Regions from separate parts of the Homo sapiens genome. Here region 1 is linked to region 2. Evidence: promoter capture Hi-C in human tissues and cell types (Jung and others, 2019). All regions are on one chromosome and are shown on one strand. The core of a region is centred on a gene start or on the middle of the fragment in contact, and the rest is flanking DNA. Distances in the headings are between cores, read along the strand shown.

The links. The method cuts DNA at HindIII sites, captures the fragments that hold promoters and counts their contacts. A contact is called where the count stands out against the background at its distance.
Region 1: a fragment that was not itself captured here is called in contact with the fragment with the promoter of NAV3 in region 2 in 1 of the 25 tissues and cell types used here (heart left ventricle).

Annotation. Positions count from the first base shown.
Region 1 is chr12:77,055,784-77,060,049 of GRCh38, forward strand. E2F7 (E2F transcription factor 7) reads right to left here. Exons shown (of 13, transcript NM_203394.3): 3 at 72-347. Among named protein-coding and RNA genes, the nearest start is that of E2F7, 7.7 kb to the right of the region's middle. The HindIII fragment of the contact is 7,431 bases long and covers 1-4,266 here.
Region 2 is chr12:77,827,491-77,832,248 of GRCh38, forward strand. It overlaps NAV3 (neuron navigator 3), which reads left to right and starts at 3,404. Exons shown (of 40, transcript NM_001024383.2): 1 at 3,404-4,214. The coding sequence starts at 3,972. The HindIII fragment of the contact is 9,569 bases long and covers 1-4,758 here.

The sequences.
Region 1 (4,266 bases), core at 805-3,304, 770 kb before region 2:
CTATGATTTTTTAATAATCAAGTAAAATTGTTTAAGTTCTAAAAAATCCCTGAGGAGCACAGTCTGTTTACCTGTAGAGAATCTGTAAATGCATCGTCCTTGTTTTCAATGGGTCGGAATAGTCCCTTTTTCTTCTCCCGGTCCCTTATATCTGGGCTGGCAGCACTAATGAGCATCTTCAGGTTAGCTGTGGGTGTCCATGGTTCCGCTTGCTGTCTGTCAACAAACTTAACTGGAGTAATGGGATTTCTTTCTGGAGTAAATTTTTTTTGCTTCGATAAATCAATTGGTTCATTTTTTATTGGAGTCTTCGGGGCCATCCTTGATCGATCAACAAATATATTTTCCTATTTTAAAAAAGAAACTTTTAGCAAGAATGAGAAAGGGCAGGTATCAGCTAAGAGTATACTTTGTTCCCACCATTCACTAAGACTTGAAAATACAAATAGGACCATATGTTTAGGGCTGAAAAGTATCAGGATAGGACTAACGAAAAGTAGTCATGGGAATAGAAGAGTGGCTCCAATGAGAAGTAGATTATACTCTGCTACTCCTTTTACACCTATCTTTCATGGTATCTCTGTAAAAGAAATCACAACGTATCTGTTACTGTTGCATGTTTATAACAGATGAGGACTATGAGGGCCAATGTGGGTTGAGTCCATATTGTTTCTAAGTGTCACCTTTTTTAAAACACTACTTACAAGTTTGCATTGACTAGTGAAGAGCAACAATGCTTCTGTAGTTCAATGTGCACCAGTGCTAATACAGCACTTAGTAGCAGGACCAGTTAATGGAAGAGCATCCAACAAAATCCCACATTTTAAGCCAACCTAGAGAGCTCTCTAACGTCATTCTCCAGAGCAGTGCATCTCAAACTACCCATGGTAAAGGACTCGTTTTTTTAGATTTCCAAACTCCTGCAAACTGATATGTGACCTTACTTCACAGGACTAATGTGCAACACAACTCCCACCAGATGTGATTTGCCATTTGAGTTTGTCACTCAAACTGACCCACAGCTTCTTCAACAAGAAGAGACCACTAATCATAAGCTTAGATATGGTGGCAATACTGAATTGCTACTGAGGTTTATTTTTCTTACTTTTTTTTTTTTTTTAAAAGATAGGGTCTCACTCTGTTGCCCAGCCTGAGTACAGTGGTGTGATCATAATTCACTATAGCCTCAAACTCCTGGGCACGTGCAATCTTCTCGCCTTAGCCTCCCAAGTAGCTGGGACCACAGACATGCACCACTACACCCAAATACTTATATTTTATTTTTTGGAGATAGGGTCTCACTCTGTAACCCAGGCTGGAGGGCAGTGGCATGATCACAGCTAACTGCAGCCTCAAACTCCTGGGTTCAAGTGATCTTCCCACCTCAGCCTCCCAAAGTGCTGGGATTTCCAGTGGTGTGCATACTACAGTGGTGTGCACACCACTGCACCCAGCTAATTTTTAAAATTTTGTGTGGAGACGGGGTCTTGCCATGTTGCCCAGGCTGGTCTTGAACTTCTGGCTTCAAGTGATTCTCCTGCCTCAGCCTCCCAAAGTGCTAGAATTACAGGCATGAGACACCAGGCCTGGCCTTTTTTAATTTTTTGTAGAGATCGGGGTCTCACTATGTTACCAAGGTTCATCTCAAACTCCTGGCTTCAAGTAATCATCCCATCTTGGCCTCTCAAAGTGCTAGGATTACAGGCATGAGCCACCACATCTAGACTACTGAGGTTTTTAAGTGCTTAACTCTCAAGTTCCGTTCTTAATTTTTTGCACCCTGGTGATAGTTTGTGGAATACCATCTGCCTCCAGACCACCCGTTGATGTAGACTGTCTTAAATAATTCTAAGAAAAGACTAACGATGGGCCCATTGTAAAAAAGGACTAAGTATATAGAATCCACCTTTGGAACTAACAAGTAATTAAAACGTATCTTTCCCCTAAAAAAGTTTCAAAAATTCAATATGAGAATTCGATAATTCAATATTCAAAAACAGAAAGATTCTGCTCTTTCTGTAGTATTCCTTTCCAGTCAATAGTGTGTCATATAATTACAAAGGTAGATGAGTTCTCAGTCACTCCTTCCCTGTACATTCTGTATAGCTACTGAATGCTTGGGTTTTGGTTGAGCAGGGGGTTACAGTAAGTGTTTTCCTATAAATGAGCAACGTGTGAAGAGGTAAAATATTGGGAGAAACTGGAGTTTGTGTAGGCAAGGCAACTCTTGCTCCTTGGATCAGCAGAAGCTGCATGCTAGCCATGGCAACATTCGGTCCTAGTATAAGAGGAAGGAGAGGAGTCAGTGGAAGTGGCGATTTCTCATACTACAGTAAGTACTCGGCCCAGAATGCTGCATCTACCCACCTCTTTTAACAAGTCCCTGTTAGTGTGCTATTCTGATAAAGGCTTCTACAGGTGAACTCTCAAGGGAAATTACTGATTACTATGTGCCACGCTCTGTTTCATGTATTTTGCATGTATTGACTCCTCATCCAATCCTGTGACATAGGCACTAATATTTTTCCGTTGTATAGATGAAGAAACTGAGGCACAGAGAAGTCAAATAACTTGGCTGAGGTCACCTATGACCTCATTCAGTGTAAAATCATCGGTATGCAAGAAACAGCTGAAGGCAGAACTTTCTGAAATTCTACACTTAAAAATGAGCCTGTGTCCTGGGCACAAACTGGGAGGAAGTTATCTTTTCCACAGCTCCAACCAAAGGTACCCAGCAGGCCACTGATCCCCACTAGTACCTAGCGAGAGGCAGCATGGGGAAATAGTTATATACACAGGATGTAGGGCCAGTTAACCTACCCCTGCTGCTTATCAGCAGGGGTGAGTGTGGCAAGTTCCTGTACCTCACTATACTTTATTTCTCTCAACCGAAAATGAAGTTCATAAAAATACCAATCTCAAGGGTTATGAGATTAGTTCCTGGCATATAGTGAGCGCTCGATAAAACTTAGCTATTATCTTTTCCCTCTTTTCTATTCTTTATTACCATTCACTCTGGCATTTCGAGCTAAATATACTACAGCACATCATATTGCTATTTAACTTCCAGGATGTGTGTCTTGTCTCAGTAACAAGACTGTGCCCTTGAAAAGGTCAAGAAGCAAGTTCCACATGTCTTGTTCATCGCAATTTTTGGCACAATGCGTTGCCCACTGCAGATACTCAAAGAACACTGTGCTTTGATGAGTTATTCCAAAAGGTATCCTCATGGTGGAGGGTGTGGTCCAGGCATGCTGGGTGGACAGAGATTTACATGCCTTCTCCATTGCTTCCAAAAGAGTTACTTTAGCGAGGGAGCAACTGAGAATGGATTATTTCTTCATATATTTTGATATATTTTCACTGTAGTTTACTGAATACTTAAAGTAGGAGGGGAGCTAGGTCATGTGGTAGGTTATGATTGTATTACACCTCTACATCAAGAAAAAAAAATGCCAACCCAATTGTTTTCTAAGGTGTCAGGTGGACAGAAAGTCAACTGCAATCTAGTCACACCTTGCTCCATCTGTCTGTCCTGCTATGCTGACAGCATATACGGCTGTGGAAAGGGCACTGCAATGGAAACCTGATTTGTGTCCCAGCTGTTTGTATCTTTTTGATCCTGGATAACTGTTCATTCTGTCTGGGCCCAGATTTCCGTAGGTATAAAATGAGGAATTTAGATGAAAGTATCTATCTCCAAGGTTTTCTAGCAAGGCTGCTTAGCTGTGGAGTGGATGCTGGGATGTACCCTGATCTCTTCAGACATGACTCATTCCCCAGCTGCTAGAAGTAATGCCAACAGTCATCCCATAACTGGACTGCTTTGGCTGAAGACAGCTGACTTGTCCAAGATCACACCACTTCCTGGGAAGCCTCTCCTGTACTCATTGGCTGGTAGAAGTAGCACAGACATATAAAAGCCAGGACTCTGGGAGGCCAAGGCAGGCGGATCACGAGGTCAGGAGATCGAGACCATCCTGGCTAACACGGTGAAACTTTGTCTCTACTGAAAATACAAAAACAAAAATTAGCTGGGCGTGGTGGCGGGCGCCTGTAGTCCCAGCTACTCTGGAGGCTGAGGCAGGAGAATAGCGTGAACCCAGGAGGCAGAGCTTGCAGTGAGCTGAGATCATGCCATTGCACTCCAGCCTGGGTGACAGCGAGATTCTGTCTCAAAAAAAAAAAAAAAAAAAAAAGCCAGGCCTCCTTGCCCCAACTCTGGACTCCTCTGATGGCTGCCCTAGAACTCCCCAGAGGGTCATT
Region 2 (4,758 bases), core at 2,154-4,653:
AGCTTAGCTTTAGAAGGTATTTCAAAGGTCATTGCCACTTTTCCTGTTAAATTTGATAGGAATAAAATGACAACCAATTTATTTCATTTTAATTTTCAGGATTTTTTCCTGAGTTCAGTCCTATTAATCCTTATGATCATGACCATATTAGGCTTCATGACTTTATCTTTCTAATTCTCATGACTGTATTTCCTGTAACATTTAGAGCTAACATTTATTGAACACTTACTATGTGGAAAACTATCTTAACAACATCATACATTTACTTCCTTTAATTCTCACAGCACCCCTGTGAAGGAAGAATAATTATTTTTTTACTCCATTTTATAGATGATGAAACTGAGACACAGCAACTTCCAAATTCATATAACTAGGAAGTAAGGAAGCAGAGATTTGCTTTTAAGCAGTCCCACTTTACAGCCCATTGTCTGAACTATCAAACTACAAATCCTATAATTTACAGATCTTAAATTCTAGTTTTTAGAAGAATCAATTCGCTTAAATATGACTCTCAGACCTTTCCCTCTCCCTCGTGATGGTTTCAACATGAGTTTTGCATCCCCTCCAAAAACTCATGTTGAAATTTAGTTGGCATTGTGAATGGTATTAAGAGATGGAGACATTAAAAGGTGAGTAGGCCATGAGAACACTAACTTCATACATGGATTAATGTTATTGTGGAAGTGGGATTATCATGAGAGTATAATCCGTTATAAAAGCGAGCTTGGCCCTTTCTGTCTCTCTTATATGAGTGCTCTCTTGCTCTTCTGCCTTCCACCATGGGTAGATGCAGCAAGAAGACCCTCACCACATATGGGCCCCTCACTCTTATGCTTCCCAGCCTCCAGAACTGTAAGAAGCAAATCTGTTGTTATTTATAAATTACCCAGTTTTAGATATTCTGTTATAGTAGCACAAATGGACTAACACAGTGGGTTCGAGATGAATACAATCATCTATATTTTAGTAAGCACTCAGGTCACCATCACATCTGGTTTGTTGAACTCAGTTTGTAAAACCTCATTTTGAACTTCATCTACAAGGTATCAGTGACCGTAAGCTAATTTTTTACTTTCTCGGTGCCTTTGTCTCCTAGGTCTCAAAACGGTGTGGTTCTTTTAAGATAAATTGAGATGACAACTCCTGGCACAAAGCACATTTTTTATAGTAAGTTAGTTTGGTTTTGTTGCTTTTGGTGGTAGATATTACTGCAAAAAATTAGTTGACAGTGGCTACTAATACCATCTTATATTTCAGTCAGAGTGAAAGATATTGCCTAATATGCAAAAGGTATTTCAAAGTGAAAAGACATCTTATTGAATGTGAATCCTTTTTTTTCAATCTAATTGTTCCAGGAATTACGATACATTCTCCTCCAATGCATGTTTCCAAAATACCAATGAGCTCATTTGTAATTGGCAAACAGGAATTTTGTACTAGTATAATGCAGAAGTTGTGTAGCTTTATATACAATTTATTCTAGGCAAAGGGAAGCAGAATAGTCAGCGTAGAATTATAACCTTGGGTGGGCAAAGAAGCCCTCAGTTTGAATGTTGTATAGTCAGCAGGAGCCCTTTTGGCTCAGTTTTAAGAAAACTAAAAACAAAAACAAAAATGAATGCCTGCATCTGGGGCTTCCTCTTCAAAGGGGCATGCCCCTGGCCTTGTGCAGCTCTTAAATATTTGCAGTTGCCCTGACCCTGTACCCATTTCAATGGCAAGCCTACTGGCTTGGAGTTTGCCTTCCAACCGGATTTCTTCCACCAATTCTGGTTAAAGTGTTGCCAGCATTTATACCCAATTATTTTTTTATGTAATTCTGAGTCACTTCCTTGAGTGGTCCAAATTATTTTCTGAGGTGCCAATATTATTTTTGCTAGCAATATACTCCCAAAGTTGCATATGTTTTGAGTGAACTTCCTAGAATCAATTTTTCCCACAAGTTCTATTATTTAGGTGCTGTTTTGTTTTGCATTGTGAGGATTACAAGTTGCATATGTCTTATTATGAACTAAACCTCATTTTACGAACATGAACCTCTCCAACTCTGTATTACCTTATAGTTTCTGAAAGTTATAATGTGTTGAATGGTTTGCAAATTGCAAAATAACTTACTTCCTCAGAGAGATTATTTCATTTCTTTGATACCACTAGTGTTGTATTTGTTTTGTATTACCCCGCTGTGTAAAGCCCACTTGGGTTACTATTTTTAAAGCCTGCAAGACTTCTAACTTACATTTCCTGTCTTCTATGCTGCATCAGCAGAACATATACTTTTAGTTATTGGCTCTTTCATCTATAAATTACTGCTTCTTAGATAAAAGTACGTAGTGATTTAAAGACCTGGAAACAGTAGGCCAAAGATGACCATTTCTTCACTAAAGAAAGACATTTTCTATAAAAAATGGTTACGATTTAATAATTTCCATGATTCATTGTGTCTATACTAAGTGTCCACCACTCATTTTTCTAAGACCTTTGGTTGCATTATTACTAATTTTTATATTTGGTGTATATAATTGCTCTCTGTATCCATTTTCTGAGTGCAATCAGTTTCAGAACAATAATGCATGGTACATTAGATGTTTTCTTAAAAGTTTACCCCTTGTTTATTTAAAGTTCCTGACATGCTTTAACCAGAAATAGAACATGCTATGATTATATTAAAATAATTCTATGGATGGAAGCATCATCATTCATTCTCACTGAGTATCTGTTTGGACAGTTTTTAGAAGCTTGGGATTTTAAGTTGGACGTCATAAGCTTGAATAACAGTGTTATTTTCAACCATTTTAAAAGACAGGTTTACAAACTAAAATCATACATTCTTTCCCCCTTTCTAGCTTCATCATTTTAGTCAATTTTTTCAGTGTCTCCAAGTCATAGCTGTTCTTTCTATAAAGTGAAGAAAATAAATATGCCTATACTTTGAGTCATTCCAATGATTAAATGTGATAATGCATAAAATGCTTAGCTCCATAACTGCTTTGTAATACATTCCACATAAGTGTTAGCTTTGAATGTTTTTATAATCATGACTTATTAAATTTGGGAACAATGATTACTACATATTTAGTGCCCTGCTTCCTGTGTTTACTCTATTTTCATAACCTAGGCAGCTATGGTCCGATGAATGATTTAACTGCTTTAGCTAGTTGCACTATTGCATGATTTTAGCCTGATTTCATGGGATGCAACAGAATGAACATCGTGGCTCATGGCTGTCAGTAGTGAAAAATAGCTGGAAATCAGACAAACAACTTTATTGCTGAGATTGTTTCCGGGCTAAAAGTTCTTCCAACAGCTGTTTGTTTTGGCCATTAACATGTCCATTCTTTTTATTTTTTCTGAGCTGGGGGAAATACAATTTTCTTTAAAAAGAGAATGCAGGCTGGCTATTTCTGAAATCAGGAAGAACCCCTGTCCTTCCACTGTTGTGGTCTTTTGGCTGCTCTGACAGTTGGACTGAAGGGCTTTTCCTTTTGATTTTTTCCTCTTTTTCAATCTCAAAGTTCAGACTCAGACTGCTTTAGTGAGAAAAAAAAATAAGCAAAACTAAGAGCTCTTTAATCCTAAGAAGGAGCTTTGTAGCAGTTACCTTGAAGAAGAGTTTACTCCCCAAAGGAGTATTTAGTATTACTTAGATACTGAGTCACTGAACAGAGAGAGAGAGAGAGACAGAGAGAGAGAGAGAGAGAGAGAGACAGAGAGAGAGAGAGAGAGAGAGAAAGAGAGAGAGAGAGAGAATGAGAATGAATATGAATCCCAGCCAGCAAGAAAGAAAAGATACTTAACTAAAGATGCAGGGAAGTTTTGCCTCTTCCTGAAAATTATATTATTAGCTTTTTAAAAATCAGGATGACTGCTAGTTTTGTTTAAAGTATTTGTTCTGGAAATACTAAAGTTGGAGTCTACCAGACTGAGGTTAGAAGCATTTTCTTTGGCAGCAAGAAGATAATTTTATAGAAGCCATGCCTGTTCTTGGGGTTGCCTCAAAACTGAGGCAGCCAGCTGTTGGGTCAAAGCCTGTGCATACTGCTCTTCCGATACCAAATCTTGGCACTACTGGGTCACAGCACTGTTCTTCAAGACCTTTGGAACTTACTGAAACAGAGAGCTCCATGCTTTCTTGTCAGCTTGCGTTAAAATCAACCTGTGAATTTGGAGAGAAGAAACCCCTCCAAGGAAAAGCCAAGGAGAAAGAAGACAGCAAGGTTAGTTGCTGAAGTTACCTGCAGACTTGTGTAGCTAAAATGCACATTTCTCTTTAAGTGCACTATAAAACATGTTATGAAATGGGGAGTAGTAGAGGAATACCAGTGTAAGGATGTAAGTAGTTATAATGGCTGAAAAGCTGAATATTTAGCTTATGTAAACACTGTATTCTTAGTTTAGAGTTGTAAAAGTCATGATCAAAATTTTCTGAATATGCATCTATTGTAATCATTTAATACTACTTATTGATGAATGCCTAGTTAGTTCTAGATATTGCTCTATTACTAATAATCATAATCAGTCACAAATGTGAGAAAAAGAGAACCTATTGTCATCCATACTGCAATGTATGAAAATAGGTACTTTCAAAAAGACATTTATTTGTAATAATTCATATAGACACCATCACTTTTCTCTAAATGTCATTTGCATTTCAAAGAATTTCTGCTTGAAAATTTGTATCATAGGCTGCTTAATTCATTGCAGTATGAAGGAAAATGACATACTATTTTCCTTGATACTGCACATTTATATGGACTTTCC